Linked DNA regions of Homo sapiens: regions 2 and 3 are each linked to region 1. Evidence: promoter capture Hi-C in 16 types of primary human blood cells and fetal thymus (Javierre and others, 2016). All regions are on one chromosome and are shown on one strand. Each heading gives the region's core, a stretch centred on a gene start or on the middle of the fragment in contact. The rest is flanking DNA. Distances are from core to core; before and after follow the strand shown. Region 1 holds the start of DBX1 (developing brain homeobox 1). Region 2 overlaps SLC6A5 (solute carrier family 6 member 5). Region 3 overlaps PRMT3 (protein arginine methyltransferase 3).

What was found. Contacts are between HindIII fragments. The CHiCAGO score rates a contact against its expected background, and 5 or more counts as called.
Region 2: a contact is called between a fragment that was not itself captured here and the fragment with the promoter of DBX1 in region 1, in 2 of 17 cell types (fetal thymus and megakaryocytes). The highest score is 6.1, in fetal thymus.
Region 3: a contact is called between a fragment that was not itself captured here and the fragment with the promoter of DBX1 in region 1, in 1 of 17 cell types (fetal thymus). The highest score is 5.6, in fetal thymus.

What each region holds. Positions count from the first base shown.
Region 1 is chr11:20,158,975-20,161,918 of GRCh38, forward strand. It overlaps DBX1 (developing brain homeobox 1), which reads right to left and starts at 1,501. Exons shown (of 4, transcript NM_001029865.4): 1 at 984-1,501; 2 at 217-318. The coding sequence starts at 1,350. RefSeq lists enhancers at 1,881-2,382, 2,383-2,882. The HindIII fragment of the contact is 3,864 bases long and covers 1-2,944 here.
Region 2 is chr11:20,610,426-20,613,369 of GRCh38, forward strand. The region is part of intron 5 of SLC6A5 (solute carrier family 6 member 5); the gene reads left to right. Among named protein-coding and RNA genes, the nearest start is that of SLC6A5, 12 kb to the left of the region's middle. RefSeq lists a silencer at 1-6 and an enhancer at 1-54. The HindIII fragment of the contact is 2,292 bases long and covers 224-2,515 here.
Region 3 is chr11:20,450,023-20,452,966 of GRCh38, forward strand. PRMT3 (protein arginine methyltransferase 3) reads left to right here. Exons shown (of 16, transcript NM_005788.4): 11 at 2,108-2,186. It overlaps LOC124902808 (a long non-coding RNA gene), which reads left to right. Exons shown (of 2, transcript XR_007062965.1): 2 at 1-49. Among named protein-coding and RNA genes, the nearest start is that of PRMT3, 64 kb to the left of the region's middle. RefSeq lists an enhancer at 464-633. The HindIII fragment of the contact is 1,750 bases long and covers 568-2,317 here.

The DNA.
Region 1 (2,944 bases), core at 251-2,750:
GCAGGGAATTGGTGCAAAGTGTCAAGCAGTCACTGCTTGTGCTCAATAGGGCATCAAATTGGCGCGACGGATTCATGAATGTTATACGCCTCGCAACCTCTGAACCAGAGCATAACCCCGAGGGGTGGACGGAGAAATACGGCTTCGGAGCAGGGAGCGATGGGCCGGGGCTGGGGCGCCGCCCTGCCTCGCGCAAAGAAGGGGGACGAGACCTACCTGGGAAATAAGAAGATCTGATGAAAGGCTGAAAAGACCCTTCGAAGTAGGGAAAGGCGAAGGTCTTGGGAGGGACGCTCTGGAGCAAGGCTGGGGATGTTTCTGGTGGGCGATGGAGGGGGGACAGAAGGAGAGAGGGAGACAGAAAGAATCTGATTACGTACTTGCCTATTGTATAGCACACTGAACACACGATATAATTAGCCCTTCATCTGGTTTCAAAGACATCTTTCTTATACGTTGACAGGGTAAAATAAATCTTCCCAACATTGTCTTATCTGTAAAACTCTTTTCTTTCTCCCCAACGTAATTCTCTGCGCCGTCCCACTCTACCCCAATCTCCATCCTAGGCACTAACGAGATAGGACTGAGTGGGGAGGAAAGAAATTGCAGATTTATAATATTTGCTAATCCAATAAATATATCATATTGAGTTTAAAAAAAAAAACTGTCTCCTAGAAGCTCGAAGGCAGAAACGCAGACGTCCAGGAGCGTGCGCTCAGCGTTACTGCACCAGATGACTGCGCACAGTCTCCGACTGCGTGTGCTCAAGTTCACTCCGAGGATGGGGCGAGCCTGGAGGCTTTTCTTCCCCGGAATTGACTGGACTATTCTCACATTGCCTGACGTAGGGTCTCAGAGTTCGTGCGTATTGTGTGTGCACCGATGTGTGTGTGGGGGCCCGCTCGCTAGAGGAAACTGAGGCCAGGATGACTCCGCGCATGCCTAGTACCTGAATGGGCCCTTAGGGTTCTGACCTCGCTTACCTGTTCTGGGCCCCGAGGAGAGGATGGCGTTCACTCCAAACTTCAGAAACGTCGTCTCGCTGGCAGGGGAGAAGGCAGTCGGCGGAGAGCCGCCCCGTCGGCTGCCGGGACCCGGGGAGCCCAGGTCCGAGGCCCCCGTGTCGGTGAGGGCCGTGGGGGCCCCCTGCCTGGGCGGCGACATGCTGGCGGTGGGCACGCTGCGGGGCAGGTAGGCGGGGGGTCGGCTGATGCGGATCAGATCCTCCACCAGGAAGCTGGAGTGGCCGGAAAATGCCGACTGCAAGGACTGGGGCAGCGTCAAGGTGGGCGTGGGCCGCAGGAGGCTAGGGTACCCGGCGGGGGGCGCGAGGAGGCCGGGGAACATCATGGTAGGCGCGGGCGGGCGAAATAACCCTTCTTTCAGTGGCCGGAGGGTAAACGCCTCGCTTCCCGCCCCTCCCGCCCCCACAGTGTCCTCTCTCTTGGGCTTAGCAAACGTCTCCAAGTAACAATCCCACTTGGGCGTCTGCGAGTCCTCCGTGGTCCTCTCGTCGAGGTGATGGTTTTATAGTGGCCCGCCCGCTAAAGCACTTTGAAAAGTGACAGCTCTGACAATGAAGTTCAACAAAGTTCTCCACTCGAGCTTCATTCGCCGGAGGCTCTGGACTCTCTGATTGGCGCAGGGGTGCAATTTATGATTGGATTAGTCTTCATAAGCATGGCCCGCACAATGGGCCGGCAACAAAGGCCCGCGCGCATCAATTTTGCATATCGACCGCCTCTTTGCAATACAGTGCGCCCCCAAAGCTCTCGCCAAAGGTTTTTGTTCCGAAGCAACACCCGGGCTAATTAAATGCCTATTTAGAAGTTTCAGATGACATCTTGCCTCATAGAAAAGGAATTATTTAAAGAACCCACTAAATTTATTTGCAGCTCCCCTGCTAAGCCTGGAAAATAAATCAATAAATATTCATAGAAATACATCTTCAGGCTATCAGCAAAGTTGCCCTCCCTCTTGTGGGGGTAGGGCAATGAAAAGTTTCAAGTCAGTGGACATGAAAATATACTCCCTTTCCGGTCTCTAGCCCTATCCGTTACTCCAGCTGAAGCATAAAGCAAATGTAGGGGTGAGTGAAATCAGTGTTAGAAGTCCCATTCTGACGACTCAGGGAAACTTGGAAACGGATGCTTTGGGGCCACTGGATGTGTGTCCGTAAGAGTGGGGAGAGGTCTGGAGTTATTTCATTTCGGGAGACTGGTTGAGTTTGAGCGTTGGTGGATACCTGAAAAGTAAAACGAGTCTCCTTCAAATTCCCAGCAACTTGGAAAACGATTTTCTCTAGGAGTTTCTGCAAGGGGCTGTCCGCACCTCACCTTGCGGGAGGAGCGGAGGAGAGCGGCGCTGGGCTGCCGAGCGGCAGGATTCCGCTTGCAAAGAGCTTAGGCTGACCGGAAACTGCCTCGGGCAAGGGTATCCAAAGGCTGTGAGTGCTATGCTGGCCGTTCTCCAAACACAGGGAGCTCTCGGCAGTTTAAGTTGAAACTCACAGCCCTGACATTTTAAGCCATAGCAGCGAAGGTCCAGACGTCGTCTGGAGAGAACCCTACCACTTGCGGGGCCCTTAACTTGGCCCAAGGTTTGGCAGCTTCTTAATTAACTACAACGCACAAACGCGTGAAAACCAGAGGGAAGGGATGCGGTTCCCAAGAATGTTGGTCCACTCCGGGAAAGCCTCCCCTGAATGTGGGGCTTCAAAGGAGAATCTTCCTGGAGACAGTCCCTTCGCTTTCCTCTGGTTGGGGCTGAGGTGGTACTAAGACTCGATTCCCCCCATTTCTCTGTTCGGCGAGATAACAGATGTGTTAAATGTCCCATTCATCTCTTTAGTGTGGCTGAACCTCCCCAAAGAGAAGTGTGCAGCCCCGCCAGGCCGCCCTGATCCTATTAACCATGAACTAACTGTCACCTTCAGCTGGTTTTC
Region 2 (2,944 bases), core at 120-2,619, 450 kb after region 1:
GACATCCAGAGACGCTCTCTAGTGAGGCTGCCTGCGTGCTTCACAATTGCAACTTGGGAATCGAGAGATTTGGTGTTTGCCCTCGTGTTAGTGATCTCTCCCGTCTTGGGTGGACGTAATGTTTGGCAGGAGGGCTAGAAATAACTTATGTGCTTATTTACAGAACAGAGATATGGAGTGTTCTTTAATTGTCTTCATTTATGTCACTGCTGGGGGAAACAAAAGCTTTCCTGGTAAATATTTGATAATGATTAGGTGGGAATCCTCCTGAAACTCTGTTATTTGATTAAAGAAGATACTTTGAATAGGAAGATATTTTTAGGCCCTGAAGTGGAGATTCTCAACCAGGGGAGATTTTGCAGGGGACATTTGGCAACGTTCAGAGACGTTTTTAGTTGTTGCAGCTGGGTGGGCTCCTGGCATTTAGTAGGTGGAGGCCAGGGATTCTGCTAAATATCCTGCAATGCACAGGACGGTCCCACAGCCAAGAATTACTAAAGCTGTCCTTGCAGGGTTAACAAGAATTCTAGACAGAAGTATTGTTATAATCAGCATTAATCAGGCTGTGCTTTTGACTCACTTCCTTGAAACCAAAAATTGAGTAACACTACGTACATTTGCATCCCCATTGTTCCTATAGATGAGATTTCTGATGCTAGAATCATAAGGCTTTTGTTTAAGAATTGCTTAAGCAGATCCCGAATTCCAGCAAAACAGCTGATGCCAACCAGTTTAAAGACTCCTACCAGCTTTAAGCAGGGGCTCATGCCTGTAATCCCAGCACCTTGGGAAGCCAAGGTGGATGGATCACTTGAGGCCAGGAGTTGGAGACCATCCTGGGCAACACGGCAAAACCCTGTCTCTACTAAAAATACAAGAATTAGCTGGAAGTGTTGGCACACACCTGTAATCCCAGCTACTTTGGAGGCTGAGACATGAGAATCACTTGAACCCTGGAGGTAGAGGTTGCAGTGAGCAGAGATTGTGCCACTGCACCCTAGCCTGGGTGACACAGTGAGACTGTCTCAAAAAACAAAAAACAAACAAATGAAAAAAGGTTCCCACAGAGGAACTGAATCAGTGTGAGAATGCTTTTCTTCATCTCTCTGTCCCAGGACTTCACCCTGCACTCTTCAACCTACTCCAAAACCCTAGCTCCAAACTCTTTGGGGAGATGGATTTGAGGTTTCCTCCTATCTCCTTGTTCAGTGGCTCTTATGATTAAACCTCTTTCTCTGCTGCAACGCAGGAAACTCTATTTGCTTCCTGCGAGTAAATGACCAGGCTGAGCAGATCCTATCTCATTCTTACCCAGTGGTTTATTTGTTTATTTATTTTGGTGAAAAAAAAAAAAAAACAAGGTGTCAATCCCCACTCTTTCTTTGTGCAGCCCCTCCATCTGTCATTCTCTGTGTTATCAGCACATGAGCGTGTTCTGTTCCTGGGCCCAGGCTGTCCCTTGCAGGGGTATTGGTCCTTTGGAATTCTGGGGTGACTTAAAAAAGGTCCTCTTCTCTTAATTAAACCTCTTTCTCTGCTGCAACGCAGGGTCTTGGTGAAGTATTGACTCACTGTGCCTGTTGGGCAATGGACCTATTGCGGTTACTTTATCTGACCCCAAATGCCATTAGTACAGCTATTGAGAAACCTTGGTCTAAAGAACTACTGAAAGGGAAGGGATTCTTATTATTGTTTCCATTTTTACCCAACATTCTAAGAAACTCTGCGGTGTGTATGGGAAGTGGTAGGCAATTTATGGCAGGCAAGTGGCCTTACGGGAGATGATGCTGAAGACTAGAGATACTCTCTCCAGAAAAAGCTATAACAATGATGATTGAGTTATGGCTAAAATTTATTGAGTGCCAGCTGTGTGCCAGGCATTGTGGGAAGATTTTTAATTTGTGATCTCTCTTCATTTAGTCCTTACTGCAACCCTGAACAACTATGACCAGAAAATGGAGGCTTGGACAAATGGAACTCATTCAAGCTCTCGGGAGTAGTGGAACGCCTGAACTCACATTCTTGCCCTCTATGCTCTTCCACAGAGAACATAAAATGGGAGTCCATGCACCAGATCAAGCCTGCTTCTTAAAATTATTTATTTATTTTAGAGAAAGGGTCTCATTCTGTTGCCCGGGCTGGAGTGCAGTGGTGCAATCACAGCTCACTGCAACCTTGAACTCCTGGGCTTAAGCAATCCTCCTCCCTCAGCCTCCTGAGTAGTTAGGACTATAGATGTGCAGTACTGCACCTGGCTAATTTTTAAAATGTTTGGTACAGATAGGGGTCTTGTTATGTTGCCTAGGCTGGTCTTGAAGTCTTGGGCTCAAGCCATCCTCCTGCCTTGGCTTCCCAAACTGTTGGGATTATAGGTGTGAGCCACCCTGCCCAGCCACTTTTTGTTATTGTTGCTCCTGGTATTTAAAGACAATTTTAACACATTCAATATTTTTAAATGGAGATATTTCATGTAAGTTTATAGATTTTCTGCATCTTTTGCCACAACATCTGGAAAAGCTTGGCACTGATTGGCTGGAGTGCTCTCTGGTTGGCCACAGTCCCCACCTCTCTCTATTATTTTCTAATTTTATGCCTTCCTCATTTGTGTCATCATCCTGGCTTCTGTAGGTGTTTGAATTTATAATCCCTGCTCCCTATTCACATTGGATTGCCTAAGTCATTGATTCCAAAGAGAGAGCTTGTTTACATCCTGTCTTGATGTATGACCTTGGCTAGCCACTGCATCCCTCTGTGCCCCAGTTTTCCTTATCTGTAACATAGAGATAATAACAGTACCTTCTCATAGGGGGTGGTGTGAGGCTTAAATTAGTCAATGCATGTAAAGTACTTAAAACAGTGCCATAAACGTGGTAACTGCCATATAAGTGTAAGTTGTTGTTGTTATTGTTACTATGTGCTCCTTTGCAAAATAACGTCCTTTGGG
Region 3 (2,944 bases), core at 193-2,692, 290 kb after region 1:
AGAAAGGATATTTTATGTAGGAACATCAGAGAAATTCTTTGTGATAAGGTAACAGCTGAGCTGAAAGATAGAATACTAGAAAACAATTTGACAATGACAAATCAATACAAACTTTTTTGGGCCTTTGTCCAAAAAGGATTGGAATGTAGTGAATACTTAATTTGTACTAAAGTGTTAATTTTATTTATTTTATTTTCAGTTTTGAAACACAGCAGTCTTGCAGATAGGGACCATTTTTTTCACCAAATCTATTATGTTTTACCAGCCAATCTTTTCTTCGTAAGATAGATGCCTTCCATTTAATAATTCCTTGGCATAAATTATAATTCACTATAAGCAACAGTTGAATGCCTATTTATAAGCATTTGTGTGTGAAATCTGCGTGAATATGTCAGATTGGTAAAGATTTCTTAGTTGAATCCCATAAGTCCCTTGTTCTTTGAATACATAGATAATATTAATGGGGAACTAACTTGTAAGAATTTTACATATTACTGAAGTACTCTATCCAGAAAAACATGTTTCTGTCAAATCCTTAATTTTCCTAATGTAACATATTGATAAACAAGCTTTGTTCCTAAGCCTCTGTTTAATAGGCAGTTATTTTTGTATCAATGAATCAGTGAGCTGGGGGGAATAGGTCAATACCGACGTAGAGTTGCCGGCAATTCAGTTCAGTTCCTTTATAAGTGATTCAAGCATGAGAGCTGTATTTTCTATAAATTAAAATTGCTGTTAATCTCTTGTGAAGATTATCCATTCTGGGTTTGCAGGTTTTTCTTGTTCTAGAGAAACCTTTAAAATGTTTTTTTAATGTGGTTAAAGAATATTATACTTACCCCACTGATCATTTATTTGTGAACAAAACAAATGAGTGGATGAGAACAGTTTTGATATAGAATGCTAAAGTAAAGGTAAAATTAATGTTGGTTCACCCTGAGCAATAAGATGTACTATGTGCTGAGCACTTGGCTTTCCCTGCTGCATAGGGCTGTTGGGGGGTTGGACCCTAGAAGGAGAAAGACTGACTGAAACTGATAGTGATTTCTCAGTCATGATTATTTGTCATTTGTATAATAAACTGTGAAGCACAGTATTGGAATGTAGCGTATTTGTGACACCAGTAGTGGCAAATTCTTTTTTCATTTGTACTGTATTATTTACCCTTTCTTGGTAGAGGATTCATTATCATACTCTAAAATCGGTAGTACACCAGGATCATGTTTCATGAATTTTATTTCCATGAACACTAGTTCTGCAAGGTGTTGATAGATGTTAAATAGAAAAAAAAAAGGTCTGTAGTCAGAAAGTGGGTAATACTTGGTTAAAATATGTTCAGCAGTTCTCTTTACCATGAGAACTACTCAGAACTTTTAGTGTGCTCATGCACATTATGAATCTCTAATAGGAGGATATGGCAGCTGGCGTTTCTTAAACCTTTTTGACTAAGGATCCCTCCACTTTCTTTTTTGTTTTTTTTTTTAATACCAAAAAGAAAGTCACTAGACAGGAAATTATTTGGGAAGTGGTTTTCTAGACTAGAGTTTCTCAACCTTAGTGCTATTGACATTTTGGGCCAGGCCATTCTTTCTTGTAAGAAGCTGTCCTGTGCATTGAAGGATGTTTACCAACATACCTTGGCTCTACACAGTAGATGCCAGTAGCATCTCGTTCATCCCCCACCCCCAGTTGCAACAATCAAAAATTACTCAGACATTGCCACGTGTTCCCCAGCAGGCAAAATCAAGTGGAGAACCACTGCTCTAGATGGATATTGCATCATTCCAGGGAGTTATAGGGCTTGTTAATAATGTCTATCCAAACATTTTTTAATGAGGAAGAAAGAGTAGTCTGGAAAGTAGAATCATAGATAAAGAAAATGCAGTATATTTTACCACAATAAACTTTCTGGGTTCACTTTATAAGCTGGCCTGATTTTCCAATAACTTACTGCAAAAAAAAGTTTCAGATTTTGCAGAATATTATTACATCTGTGGCAGAAAAAAAAATATTCTGTAATTAAAAGAGTAGCACCGATGTTTAAATTGACCTGCTTATGAGAGTATTGCACATTTCTAAACTCTTTTTTTCCCCTTTTTTTATGCAGGGCTATTTTCTTCTGTTTGAGTCTATGTTAGATTCTGTCCTTTATGCAAAGAACAAATACTTGGCAAAAGGAGGCTCGGGTGAGTATAAAATTCTGGTTTTAATAATCTAATTTTAGTCTAGCAGAACCAGATGAACCTTTGGATTTCAAATAAACTATGCATGGCTGAGGAAGTTCCCGATAGGGTTGAAAGATGTTTGCATTACAAGAAGCTTTAAGACATTTGTTTACTATATTGTTGAAAGTAGAATATTATATAAGACATGGGGGACTCCAAGGTAATGGTATTCTCAAGAATGCTTTTATTAAAAGGTCCTTTTAATAAATATCTAAAGACTAGGTTTTGGAAGCTTTTTGATATTCAAACTCAAATCTAACAAACTCCTTTTTATTTTTAATCCTCATGTCATTTAGTTCCCTTTTTTCCCAATGGCATATTTCATTCTAAGTTGGAAATTATTCACGACTTCACTAAATCTGTAAACCCGACTTCTCTGTGATTTTCTGAGAACATTTCAAGTAGTGACTGGTTTCTAATGAGTTTTAAAAGTGCCACATAACCAATCCACATATAAAGGGATCCTAATAAATTTGGAAGGCTTTCTTTTCATGTCTCTGGAAAACATTTAATCATATTAACTCTGCATACTCAGAGTGAGATTCTGTTTTTACAGACCATCTGCTGTGAGCAATTATATACATACAAAATAATTGTCTTTCAGGACAGGGATTGTGTTTGTTTAGCTTTAACTCTTAAATGAGCTCCACAGCTTCTAGGATGTAGATGGAGCATCATCCATGTTTATTGAATTGAATCATTTAAAGAATCATTAAAAC